2 separate regions of the Homo sapiens genome follow, and region 1 is linked to region 2. Evidence: promoter capture Hi-C in human tissues and cell types (Jung and others, 2019). All regions are on one chromosome and are shown on one strand. Each heading gives the region's core, a stretch centred on a gene start or on the middle of the fragment in contact. The rest is flanking DNA. Distances are from core to core; before and after follow the strand shown. Region 1 holds the start of TBKBP1 (TBK1 binding protein 1). Region 2 holds the start of CDC27 (cell division cycle 27).

Region 1 (6,026 bases), core at 3,527-6,026, 500 kb after region 2:
GAGTGCAGTGGCGCGATCTCGGCTCACTGCAAGCTCCGCCTCCCGGGTTCACGCCATTCTCCTGCCTCAGCCTCCTGAGTAGCTGGGACTACAGGCGCCCGCCACCACGCCCGGGTAATTTTTTGTATTTTTAGTAGAGACGGGGTTTCACCGTGTTAGCCAGGATGGTTTCGATCTCCTGACCTTGTGATCCACCCGCTTCGGCCTCCCAAAGTGCTGGGATTACAGGCGTAAGCCACCGCGCCTGACCTCAATATAACCTTTTAAAAATTCTGTTTGGGAGATAGCAGAAATGAACATGGCTGTGGAGAAAAATGAAGCACATATGGAATTATAAAAAACAAAAAACATCTGGGCGTGGTGGCTCATGCCTGTAATCCCAGCACTTTGGGAGGCTGAGGTGGGGGATCACCTGAGGTTGGGAGTTTGAGACCAGCCTGACCAACATGGAGAAACCCCATCTCTACTAAAAATACAAAATTAGCCAGGCATGGTGGCACATGCCTGTAATCCCAGCTACTCGGGAGACTGAGGCAGGAGAATTGCTTGAACCCGGGAGGTGGAGGCTGCGGTGAGCCGCGATGGTGCCATTGCACTCCAGCCAGGGCAACAAGAGTGAAACTCCGTCTCAAAAAAAAAAAAAAAAAAAACCACTCTATTCCTTCCCAAACCCTACTAATTCAATTAGGGGCTCTGCATTACCTCCACAGGAATTTGGGGACGTGGTGAAGGAATGTCTTTCTACCACTGCCCTACCCTCCCATCTGATGGAACACCTGCAGCTGCAGTTGGAGTCCCAGGATGCTTGCATGGTGAATGGCCCACTTTCTAGGGTCTGGAACTGGAGGGCGAAGGTGGCACCTAGATCCTGCAGTCACATGGGGCTAATCAATTTTCCTGCCCGCCAGGGTTCCATTTGAGTCATCTGGGTTTTATTTTGATTCAGCCTCTTTAACTGGCTGCTAATGTCACCTCCTCCTACTCTTTTCAGGCAATAATGGGACAGGAAAGACAGCCTCCAGAGCAAGAGTCATGGGAGTGGGAGAGTCTCCCTGGTGGTTTCCAAGGAGGAAACACTGGCAGGGCCTGGCTCTGGGGGCCTGCATTTGCACTGTCTCTCCTACCTTAACGATTGGAGGTGGGTCCTCTGTTATCACACCTGTGAAGGCCATTTAGAAATGTTTTACAACTCATGCCTGACCACTGTCCACCACTTTCCCCACTGTCCTCCCACTGTGGCTCCTATCCCCTTCACCATCTCCCCTATTATTGTCTCCACCATGATGAGCCCTGCCAATACCAGGGGCTCTTAAAAGGGATTCAGACCAGCTGGGCATGGTGTCTCACGCCTGTAATCCCAGCACTTTGGAATGCCGAGGCAGGCGGATCACGAGGTCAGGAGATCGAGACCCCATCTCTACTAAAAATACAAAAAATTAGCTGGGCGTGGTGGCGGGCGCCTGTAGTTCCAGCTACTCAGGAGGCTGAGGCAGGAGAATGGCATGAACCTGGGAGGCGGAGCTTGCAGTGAGCGGAGACCACGCCACTGCACTCCAGCCTGGGTGACAGAGCGAGACTCCGTCTCATAAAAAAATAAAAATAAAAATAAAAAGGGTATTCAGACCAATGTTCAGCTTTCTCAGATGAGGAAACAGGCCTAGAAAAGTGAAGTAGTCTTAAGTCACACTGCCTCATTTATTTATTCATTCAACAAAGAACATACTTTCTTACTCTTTTAAGATTTAGCTTAGCCAGGTGCGGTGGCTCATGCCTGTAATCACAGCACTTTGGGAGGCCGAGGCAGGTGGATGGCTTGAACCCAGGATTTTGAGAGCAGCCTGGGCTACATGGTGAAACCTTGTCTCTACAAAAAATACAAAAATTAGCCGGGCGTGTGGCATACGCCTGTAGTCCCAGCTGAGGCGCAAGCCACCACGCCTGGAGACTGAGGTGGGAGGATCACCTTAGCCCAGGAGGGCGAAGCTGCAGTGAGCCAAAATTGCACCACTGCACTCCAGCCTGGGCGCCAGAGAAAGACCCTGTCTTTTAAAAAAAAAAAATTGTAAGAGCTCATCAAGGAGACCTTCTCTGAATACTGTGAAGCAGATCCCATCCTCCCATTCTTCTCTAGTACTGCCCCTTGGTGTTTCTTTTTATCCTTTATCACAATTTCCTTCCTTCCTTCTTTCCTTCTTTCTTTTTTTTGAGACGGAGTTTCGCTCTTGTCACCCAGGCTGGAGTGCAATGGGGTCACCTCGGTTCACTGCAACCTCTACCTCCTGGGTTCAAGCAATTCTTCTGCCTCAGCCTCCCGAGTAGCTGGGATTACAGGGACCCACCGTCATGCCTGGCTAATTTTTGCATGTTTAGTAGAGACGGGTTTCACCATGTTGGTCAGGCTGGTCTCAAAGTCCTGACCTCAGGTGATCTGCCTGCCTCAGCCCCACAAAGTGCTGGGATTACAGGCATGAGCCACTGTGCCTGGTCCTTTATCACAATTTCTAGTGGTTTTACTTATTCATCTTTTTATTTTTCTGACTTCTCTACCATACTGCAAGCTCTAAGAGAGCAAGAGACATGTATACCTGTCAGAGACATGTTCAGCACTGTATTCTCAGCACCCAGCACATAATAGATGTTCAAGAAATCTTTGCCGAATAAATATACAACGAGCAGGTACCAACCCTCAGGGCACCTTAGAATACAAGGATGGATGGGATATAATCTCTGCTCTCAGAACTGCCTGGTATGAGCAGCAGAACTAGAAATGGAGAATGCAATGAGATCAGGTCCAGATTGGGGGAGGGGGAGGATTTTAGGGCACCTAAACCAGGCCTAATGGACTTTTGCCACCAACCACCTAGAACCAAGGATAGAAGCATTTGGCTGCACCCTGCCAGGTGACTCAATTAGGCCCTGAGCATCCAAGCAGCAGCAGGGGGCTGATGACTCATCCCAGACAGTGTGTGCTTAGAGGGTCCTGGGACCCCTTTTTCCAGTGAGGGAGGGCTTGCCAGTTGGTCTTATGGGTCCTGTTTGTGGCCAAGTCCAAGGTCACCGAGGGTCCCAGAGACAACCCTACACCTCCTAGTCTAGCCTCCAATCTTTTGCCTGGTCCCTTGCTTCAGAAGAGATCTTGGGGAGTACTAGGGAAAGGAACATCTGCCTAGCCCTTGGGATTAGTGGGGTGACAGATGTCCCCACTGGTTTGCCTTCATATCTAGAGGGTAGATAGGTCATCCCACATGGTTCAGAGAAAGCTAGTGCCTCAGAGAACAAGTGGCTGACCTGCCTTCCTGTTCTGGACTACAAACGGGAGCCAGTGCTGGCAGGAAAGACTGAAAGGGAACCCAGCAGGAGGAGGAGGAAGGAAGCCACTGAGAATCCCCCCTTCTATGAAGAGAATGAGTCTAGAGCTCTGGCTGGCTCTCCTGGTAGAAGCTCACCTCTCAGTCCAATTTTCTCCCAGCAGTGAGGAAAGATGGCAGCTGCTGCTTTTCAAAGCTCAGAGAGAGCAAGAAACCTTTTCCTTCCATCCTCCCCCTCGGAGATTCCCACCCCCATCCCACCTCAGGAGCCAAAAAGGTAGGCTCAGGTTCCCAGCAGTCTTCGCAGCTAAGGCTGAATCTGCCAAAAGCCCCCGCCCAGCTTATCCCCTGCTTCCGGGCTTTGCCTCCCTGTCCACAGAGGATGCTCTTCAGCCAGAGTGCTCCAGGGTTCCCCTGATCATTCTCTACCTGCAGCTAGGCTGACCATGCCTCTGTCCACATTATTTAATCCACCAGGCAATACTCAAAATGACATCGTTAACACTTCCTGAGCATTCGCAGGCTGCTGTATTTAGTTCTGATCCCCATTCTTCCTCCATGAGAGTGCTTAGGTGGGGCATGATCTCCAGCTTAGAAAGGTTAAGGTAACTTGCCCAAGGTCACACAGCAGGAAAGTAGCAAAAAACTTGTTTCTCTTGCCCAGCAGTTTGGCAGGTGCTCAAATAATCTTTGTGCACAGGGTGACATCTGTTGTTTCTTCATTTCCCTGACCTGTGGGTACTTGAGGGTGGCCGGGGAGTGGTGTGTGGGGAGGGAGATGGCTGTCCTTCTTCATGAATGAATCTTTGACCTCCTTAGTTTACTCTCACTTCCAAAGAAGTTACAGCTTTAATCTCTCTGTACCCTATGTTCAATGTATTTATCGCAGCAATGCCCCTTTTACCAAGAGCAACGAAGAGCAGGTCTAATGATTTCCTTCTCAAAAGCGCAAAGACCAAAAAAAAAAAAAAAAAGCCAGATAAATAGCCCCACTTCCTCCCCAAATATACAGCCCATAACTAAACAACCAAAACAACCAAAGCATCAGCCGGGCCCCTGCACTGACCGCAGACGCCCCCAACACACGCCACCACGCCACACTGCGCCGGGAGGCGTCGGGGAGGGGGCGCCAGCGCGGGCCGCTGGCGCCGCAGGGAGCCGGTGGGCTCCGGGCGCGCTGCCAGGAAGGGCCGCACCGTAGGGGCCGCCGCCTCTCGCCACGTGGTGGTGGCAGCGGCGGGGTCCGGGGCGCCTTCCCAGCTGGAGAAACCCGGAGCAGCCGGGGAGGAGGAGGCGGAGGAGGCGGCGGCGGCGGAGGAGGAGCGGGGCGGACGGGAGGGAGGGGGTTGGGGGGAGGGGTGGGGGGTGGGGAGAGACCCGGCGGCGGCGACAGGGCGAGGAGCAGAGCGCGGTACCAGGGGGGTGGGGGCACTGGTGCCCGTTTGGGGAGGGAGCAGGCGGAGGGGGTAAGCTGCGATTACAAGCAGGAACCGGCAGCAGCTGTGAGTCCCCGGCTGGGGCTAGGGCTGGGGGAGGGGAGCGGCGCCCGGGCTGGGCCCCAGGGGTCGCGGGGTGGGCAGGAGGAGGCGGCAGGAGGGCGGCTGGCAGCCGCACGGGATGGCTGGGAGGGAAGGGGTCCGGTGTCGGCCGCCCTCATCCCCTCGCGTCCCCCTCCGCCGCCGTTCCTCAGGCCGCGCCACTCCCGGAGCCCCTTCCCCGGCCCCGAGAGGGTGTCCGGGGGCCCAGGGCTCGGCCGGTTGTGGGGGAGGGGGCTGCGTGGTCTCGGCCCCCGAGAGGGGAGGGGCGACAATTTCTGTCGGCCGAGCGAAAGGGGTTTAAAGGGCGGCTCTTAAAGGGGCCGCAGGAGGGGCCCGGGCCGACAGAGGCACTCACCCCTTCCCCAGCCGCCTTCCATTGCGCTCACCCGGGCGCTGGGCCCAGAGAGGAATGCGGAGGAAGGAGGCATTTGTGGTGCGGCCTCGGGGACAGAGCCCCGCCAGCGGGGTGGGCGCAGAGGGGCGGGCGGGGGTCTGGGGGGGTGTGGTAAGCGCTGGCGCGCGGAGCTGGGGGGAGGGGATGGCGTGGGAAGGAGAGGGTTAAAGGTGGGGCCGGCCCTACAAACGCGCGCACACACTCCTTACTCAGACCCAGTCACTCGCGTTTCCCTGGCACTTAGATGGGCCTGTGGGTGGCGGAGGGGGGGGGGTGGATTGAATTGGAGCCTGCGCCGGAGCCCTTTGCACCCCAAGCTCCTGCAGCCCGACCTGGGGGCCCCGCTGTCTGAACTCACAGCTCCCTGCCGAGCCCCCTCTCCGGGGTGCACATAACGCTCCAGCGCGCGCACACACCTCGGACAGTCCCCTCGCGTCTCACGTGACACGCGGCCCGGACGTGCCACCCTGCCCACGCGCTCACGCACGCGTGCACACACCAGCCTCCTGGTCGCTGCCCCACTCCGTCCCGACGCCCCTGCGACCCCGAAGGCACTCATTGACTGACACACCTACACTCATTCACAGACGCACACTCCCCCCATACGCCAACCCCAGACACACATTCATAACCAGGCCCGAGAGAAGTACACACGCACCCCCTCACTGCCTACTCCTGCTTTCGGGAGCCTGAGTCATTCCTGCCCCCTCGTAGGGTTCCCCATTTCCCGGTGCGCGGGCACCCTGAGACAGCCTTGGGAATTCGTTCGCGTCCCCTTCCACCTGG
Region 2 (7,137 bases), core at 3,681-6,180:
CCCAGCATACCTGCTACAACTGCTTATTTTGCAATATATAAGCCACAAAAGACTCAAATGATTTACCAGCTATTTTACTACTATGGACCACTAGGAAAATTTCACACACATATACTAAAGTCAAAAAGTCCTAGAGCTTTGAAATTTTTTCTGTCCTTTTAAAATTAAAGAAATAAGAGGCAAGGGCGGGGGGAAAAAAGAAGGAAAAAAGGTATCATATTCAAGAGTTGTATCCATTTCTGACTTAAAATCAAGCTTTGCTCAGAACATCATTCCCTTATCACCAGTTCTTAAGAGCATCAGAAAAAACTTGCCATCTCGAGAATCTCACATACTGCTTCCATCCCGCTTTGCTCAATCAATTCTAAGTTCCTGACTAACAGTGTCTCTTGTGCCGGGATTGGGGGGAAGAACAGATTATTCTCTAAGGCACTACAGATTAGTAGCTGATGATGAACAGGGCTAAAATCAGCACCTCTGCCCAACTGATGGTGTGGGCCTTCCCTTAAAAGAACACCCAGTGCATTACCGCTAGAGTTCTACAAATTAAAGCCAGATGAACGAAATGCTGCTAAAAGAAAGTTATGAAGCCAAAAAGAACAACGCTCCTCTCCCTCTCCCCTAAAAAATGTTTAAGAGAAATCTGACTGATTAATGGGTTAGTCCCCAGGTGCACTAATTTAAAAGATAAATAAACCAACAGCTTAAAGTTGCAAAATTCCTTACCAGCTAGCTATTCTTAAATATAAAATATTATTTAAAATATAAACAAACCTCTATAAGTTGTACTTAGACTTAAATGTAATCACTATAAATTTTTCTCTTTTTTTTTGAGACAGAGTCTCACTCTGTCACCCAGGCTGGAGTGCAGTGGCGCGATCTCGGCTCACTGCAAGCTCCACCTCCTGGGTTCACGCCATTCTCCTGCCTCAGCCTCCTGAGTAGCTGGGACTACAGGTGCCTGCCACCATGCCCGGCTAATTTTTTTTGTATTTTTAGTAGAGAAGGAATGGTTTCACCCTGTTGGCCAGGATGGTCTCGATCTCCTGACCTCGTGATCCGCCTGCCTCAGCCCCCCAAAGTGCTGGGATTACAGGCGTGAGGCACCGCGCCCGGCCTGTAATCATTATAAATTTTTTGTTAGAGAAAGCTTATTACAAAAAATTTGTTTACTTGTTTTTGTTAAATTTTTTATACATTTTGTGTTCTTGTTTTTGTCAAAAAAGCTGTCTTTATTTTATTTTATTTGTTGGTCTTGAACTCCTTGGCTCAAGTGATCTGTCTGCCTCAGCCTCTGAAAGTGCTGGGATTACAAGCGTGAGCCACTGTGCCCAGTCAGCTGCCCTTTTTTAAAAACCATAAAATAAATGGATAATAAAGGCTTCAGACAATGTAAGAAGATACAAAGAAAAAAATCACTGTTGAAATTTCATATTATACATTATAATTGAATTTCTAGGATACTGATTTAGTTTAGATGCACGTCAGTGGTTCTTACTCTGGGCAATTTTGCCTTCTTACTCCCAATTAATGCCCCAACATTTAGCAATGTCTAGAGGGTATTTTTGGTTGTCACAAATGGAGGGGTCATCCAGTGGTTAGAAGCCAGGGATGCTACAAAACATTCTACAATGCACAGCTTCCAACAAAGTATTAGCTTGCCCCAAATGTCAATAGTGCTCAGATTAAGCAGCCCTGGTCTACATGATCATGCAGTTGGATTATTCTACTAGTCTGTATGTCTAACTCTTGTCTCTTCCTCCCTTTCCAACAGCACCAGATAAATATTCCCAAAGTGGTGCTTTTATTACATAATTCCTCTGCTCAAAAACTCTTCTGCTCATATAATGGTTATTCATTACCAATGCACATTAAATCTAAATTTCTCATTGAGTAGCCAAAATATGTTACTCTTTGAATCCATGTTAGATGCTGTCCCTGAACATTTTATCCCCAGCCAAGAGTACTCCTTCACCATCTAATGATCTCTAAAACAGTATCATGTATATAGTACCCAATTGCTATATTGCTTATTAAATTAATTTTCGAAAGGCTTATTTACAACTTCATCCAACACTTCTGTGAAGTCTTACCCCTAGGAATAATTGCTAAATCTATATAAAATCTCTTTGCTTCTTTTTTAAAAACCAATTTCACCAGGTGACTTTTATAAATATTCAAAAAGCTCTCACTGAAGTCACTTAGGCTAGTGTGTCTTTCCAAATAGTTACCATTAAAAATAAAAGAACTGACAGAAATTCTGCCTCATATGTGAGACTTTTGTAAGGACTCAAATATAAAGTAATACTCTTCTGAGAGGTAGTAATTTGAGACGGAGTTTTAATTTAGGCATATATGGTATATCGGACTGGCCATTCTACATTAAAACTTTAAAGAAAAAAAAATGCAGAAAACAGTTCTTCATATTTTCTGTGAACTTTTTCCTATGCCTAGTAATACCATCAACTCTGAGGCATTCCAAGAAAGAACAATTTTCCAACTTACTCTCATTGCTTTCCAAATACACGCAATCTGTCATCATAGTTTTTTTTTTAATAAAGACAGTATCTTATATATCTGTCCTATTTTTATTCTCTTCCTAATTCTTTCCCATTTGCAGCACTATCCCTGATCATTGATCTTTATCATTGTAGCCAAAGTTGCTTGTTCTTCTCACTGTTCCAAATCCATTCTTGAATGGCTTCTTATACTATACAACCAAAATTTTCACCTAGTCATATCCTAAAACTTTCTACCACTATCTCAAAAATCTAATGGACAATGCTGCTATGAAAAAGAAGCAAATTTGACATTTAAGCCTTAAAAATATCAAAGTGTATTACTGCTCAGAGTACTTTAAGGACAAACAGGAAACCTGATGGGTACTATCTAGAAACAGGCTACATATTCCTTTTCTTTTCCATGCTTTTATTTTTTATTTATTTATTTATTTTGAGATGGAGTCTCACTCTGTCGCCCAGGCTGGAGTGCAGCGGGACCATGTCGGCTCACTGCAAACTCCATCTCCTGGGTTCAGGCAATTCTCCTGCCTCAGCCTCCCAAGTAGCTGGGATTACAGGCGCCCACCACCACGCCTGGCTAATTTTTTATATTTTTAGTAGAGACAGGGTTTCACTGTGTTGGCCAGGCAGGTCTCGAACTCCTGACCTCAGGTGATCCACCCGCCTCAGCCTCCCAAAGTGCTGGGATTTCAGGTGTAAGCCACCACGCCCGGCCTTCCATGCTTTTATAAAGTCTGAAATTATTATTAAATGGTGGTTATAGTCTATCAATGCAACTAGTTTATCACTTTAGAAGACTTCTGGGGCCAGAGAAGGCAAAAAAAAAAAAATCATTAACTATTAAAACAAAATTATAAGAATATGCAACAGAAATTAAATAACTTGAGTAATCTGCTTATCTATTTAAGTTCATGTTAGGCCTTAAAAAATTATATATATATAATTACCTCATCTACAGCCAGAATAAAAAAAAATCTTAAAAGAAACTATACTGGTAAAAAGAATTTGGATGGAAATAGCTCTAGAAAAACTAATACAACTTACAGACAGGTAAATTTCATAAGATATAATCTTACGTTTTATTAATTCAAACACTAATAGCTGCTATATGTAAACAGCTGGAGAAAAAAACCAAACTAGAAGAAATGAGTATTTCATGCTGTTTAGAAAAATGAAATAAATATGAAAGTAGTGATATATTAAAATATTTACTGTTTGATACCTCAAGCCTTTTAAGGGCAATATGAAGGAATTTCTAAAAATCAGTTTGCTTTATAACTTCAAAATAAAGTCCATGACTCAATGACAGCAGTTGATAGAGGTCAATTCTGATCAAGTTAAAGATCATATAGTGGGATGAAGTCTCCCAGACCTGGTCCATTACCAAGGCACAAAAGATACAGTTTCTCCAGATGTCAGGGGGGAAAATGACTTGGCACCGCATCACACACTTAAAATCCAATAGGGTTCCTTTAATGCAACACAGCACTGTGCGTCAAAGCATACCCTGGTGTAAAGGCAGTGAAATGGACAGAAACACCATTATTTGTGTTTCATTTCCTGAATGCCTTATAAACATGCACAACAAAATGCTCCTGATCCCCATCAGAGAGGATGAAAACAACCCAAATGTGCCCTTTCCACCTCCTCCCCTGGTATTGGTGCTTGCGCCTCAGCACTGAGGCTTGGAGTTGTCTTCTCAAACCATCATTGTCCGGTGGGAAATTCACCGAGAAAGGAAACGTGGGATAGGAAGTCTGTTACCAAAATAGAAATTAGTATTAAAAAGACCGATCCTACGCTCCCTCCACCCTCTCATACAAGACAAAATAAAAAAAACCTCCGTAAACTTGCCCTACCGTCACGAAGATCACACAAGCTCCGATCAAATGTGCTTCTCGATCATCTTTTAGGCAAGAGAGCGCTTGGGGTGCATTTTCGGCCCCTCATCTCCCACCCCCAGTCAAGCCAGGCCCCTGGACTGACAGGAAAGGCTGGCCGGACGTTGGCTCGGACGGGAAAGGCGGTTATTTTCGCCGAAGCCGCTCACGCTAAGGGTGAAGTAATGTAGGGCCAGAGGTAACACGGCTTAGGCTGTGGGCAAGGCCTCCGAACTGACTAAAGATAGGCAGGACACGGCAGCAGGGGAGGCGGGAGAAGCAGCCGGGCCTAGGCCGCACCAGGCCGCGGAGTGGCCCTACGCTGCTGCTTCCCGACCGAGGCTGCCAGCCAAGCCCCAGAGAAGAAGGTTATCATTACCTGGACGGGTTCCTGCAGCACCGTCATCCTCGAGGCTCAGGCCCACTTTCTGCAGTGCCTCAGGCCCCCCCTGTAGCGGCTCCGGCCCGGCCAGCCCCTGCTCATTTAAACTCACCAGCGACCGTTACCGGGGGATGGGGGAGGCCGAGCGATTGCCGAGTGCTTCCGAGCGGGACACGGGAATACCCGAAGTGGAGAAAGCCGAGCGGGAACCAGACGGAAAAGCCCGAAGGGAGTCGGAAATACCCGAGGTTGGTCGACGAGAGAGAAAACCGTTGCCGGAAATTGTCGAAGATTACCGGAAGCTACCGAGTCTGACCCAAAGCGTAGGTTTCTCTTCTCAGCCACGCCTTCAGCCACGCACACCACGCCCAATCGGCCGTCCCAGGGTTGGGCTACGCCAAATCTGCAACCAGCAGGCTGGGCGTGGCGTGACAGCGCGGGCGGGTAGCGTTACGTGGCGGGGCTGCAGTGTGGATTAGCCCCTCAGCCCTTTTGGATTAATTGGTGTGCTGTAGATTATGAAGCAAAGGGTGAAACAGCAGAGTTTGGGGCTGTCTTTAATGAATCAACAAGTATTTGTCTATTGAGTTTAGATCATTCGTCCATTCCAGAAGTATCTACTCACGGCTCTGGGGGAAAGCTAAAGAAATTTGGAAAGATTGCCACTCCCCAAAGACATAGGATAGCTTCTGTCTTCAAGGAGATTAAGGTCTATTTAAGGGAAAAGCAGTGTAACAGAGAACGCTATATTATATGGTGCCTATTATAAGTAATATAAAAATTCAGAGAGGGCAATTGTGATAAGATAAGGAAAGTTCTATGGAAGGAAAAAAAAGTTTAAAATGGAGTTTGAAGGATGGGTAAAATTAGAGGAAAAAGAAGTATAGGAAAGTGAAGGGAGGAAAAATGGGATCAGTCTGCTAAGAAGGCATTAATTGGAAATAGTTACTTAGGTGAAGAGATCATGGAAAAGCTCAATAGGCCATTAGAAATTTTTATTTTTGATAGGTGAGGCATTCCGCTGTGGTGGGAAGAGTAGGGGGTCGGAAATTCAGAGGCCTGGTTTTGAATTTTATCTTTAGCACTAACTAGTCATAGGTCCTTGGCAAATTACCTCTCTGAACTTATGTTCGCTTAGTTTGAAAAAAAAGGATTAAGAGAATTCGATGTATTATAAATGTGGCCGTGTCTAGCATGCAATGTAGACTCTCTCATATTTCCTTTCTGCTCCCCTTCTCCCCCCAAAAAGAGTGAACCAGGGGACTGTTTAAATTTTGTTTTTCAGCAGATGAGGAAACAGTTTTTGAAAGTTACTTTTCTAGTCAGGAGCTCTCTAGGCTAGATGTGAGAATCATGATATATTCCATTGCTTGGAAATTTCCCTTTGGGTGATGTTAGAGGGAGATATTTTTTCTTTCATTTTTAAAAACAAGGCTGACAGAGCTACACTGCATCCTTCTCCACCGCCTTGTCTTGTCACTGTATATATACTTATAGCCCCTAAAGGGCAGGTGCTAAGATGATTTTTGGCTGCCCTGTGCCCAGTTGCTTTAGCGGGATTATGCTGGATGACTTGAGTGGTAACAGACTTTTACACTGGCCTGGAAAGTAGCCATTAGCTATTTAAAGTTTAAGTTAAAATGAAATTAAAAATGAAGTTCTTCAGATGCCCTAGCCACATTCCAAGGATTCAGTAGCCCTGTATGTGGCTAGTGACTGCCATATTGGACAGTCACACAGATATAGAAGAACATCACCAGCACTGGCTTGGCTAGGGCTGAAAGATTCAAGATGGCTTCACTCACATGTCTAGGGTGTCAGTGGTAGCTATTGGCTGGGTCCTTCATTTCTTCTCTGCATGACCTCTCTTTTCACACTGGCCTCTTATGAGTCAGTAGTTTAGCTCCAGCTTCTTGACTTGGTGGTTGACAACAAAGTGCGCAAAAATAGAAGCTGTGAGGTCCCTTAGGCCTAGGCCTGTGAGCATCACTTCTTGTTGGTCAGAGTAAGACTCAGAGCCACCCTGGATTCACCAGGAGGAATAGTCTACTTCTTAATGGGAAGAGTGGCAAAGTAACACCACAAAGGGCGTGTGCCATGGGAGGAGTTTTTGGGTCATCTTTGGAAACAATCTACCACGCTAGATATGAGATGAGAGTATCTAAGATTGGGAATGGAAAGAAAGGGATAAGTAAGAGCTATCACTCTTAAAATGTGACCCTTTCAACTGAACACAGTACTCCAGATTTATTCTGAATAATTCAGAATGCAGTTGGACTATTATTATCTGGACACGTCTATTAAAGTGGACTACAGTTGTATTTACATTTTTTTTTTCCGAGACTGAGTCTTG

The links. The method cuts DNA at HindIII sites, captures the fragments that hold promoters and counts their contacts. A contact is called where the count stands out against the background at its distance.
Region 1: the fragment with the promoter of TBKBP1 here is called in contact with the fragment with the promoter of CDC27 in region 2 in 1 of the 25 tissues and cell types used here (dorsolateral prefrontal cortex).

The regions. Positions count from the first base shown.
Region 1 is chr17:47,689,385-47,695,410 of GRCh38, forward strand. TBKBP1 (TBK1 binding protein 1) reads left to right here and starts at 4,777. Exons shown (of 10, transcript NM_001394755.1): 1 at 4,777-4,810. RefSeq lists enhancers at 4,532-5,212, 5,213-5,892, 5,893-6,026 and silencers at 4,996-5,125, 5,376-5,435. The HindIII fragment of the contact is 16,798 bases long and covers 1-6,026 here.
Region 2 is chr17:47,184,365-47,191,501 of GRCh38, forward strand. CDC27 (cell division cycle 27) reads right to left here and starts at 4,931. Exons shown (of 19, transcript NM_001256.6): 1 at 4,782-4,931. The coding sequence starts at 4,808. It also overlaps a transcript of MYL4 not described here. RefSeq lists a silencer at 4,456-4,505 and enhancers at 4,539-5,135, 4,666-4,855. The HindIII fragment of the contact is 11,296 bases long and covers 703-7,137 here.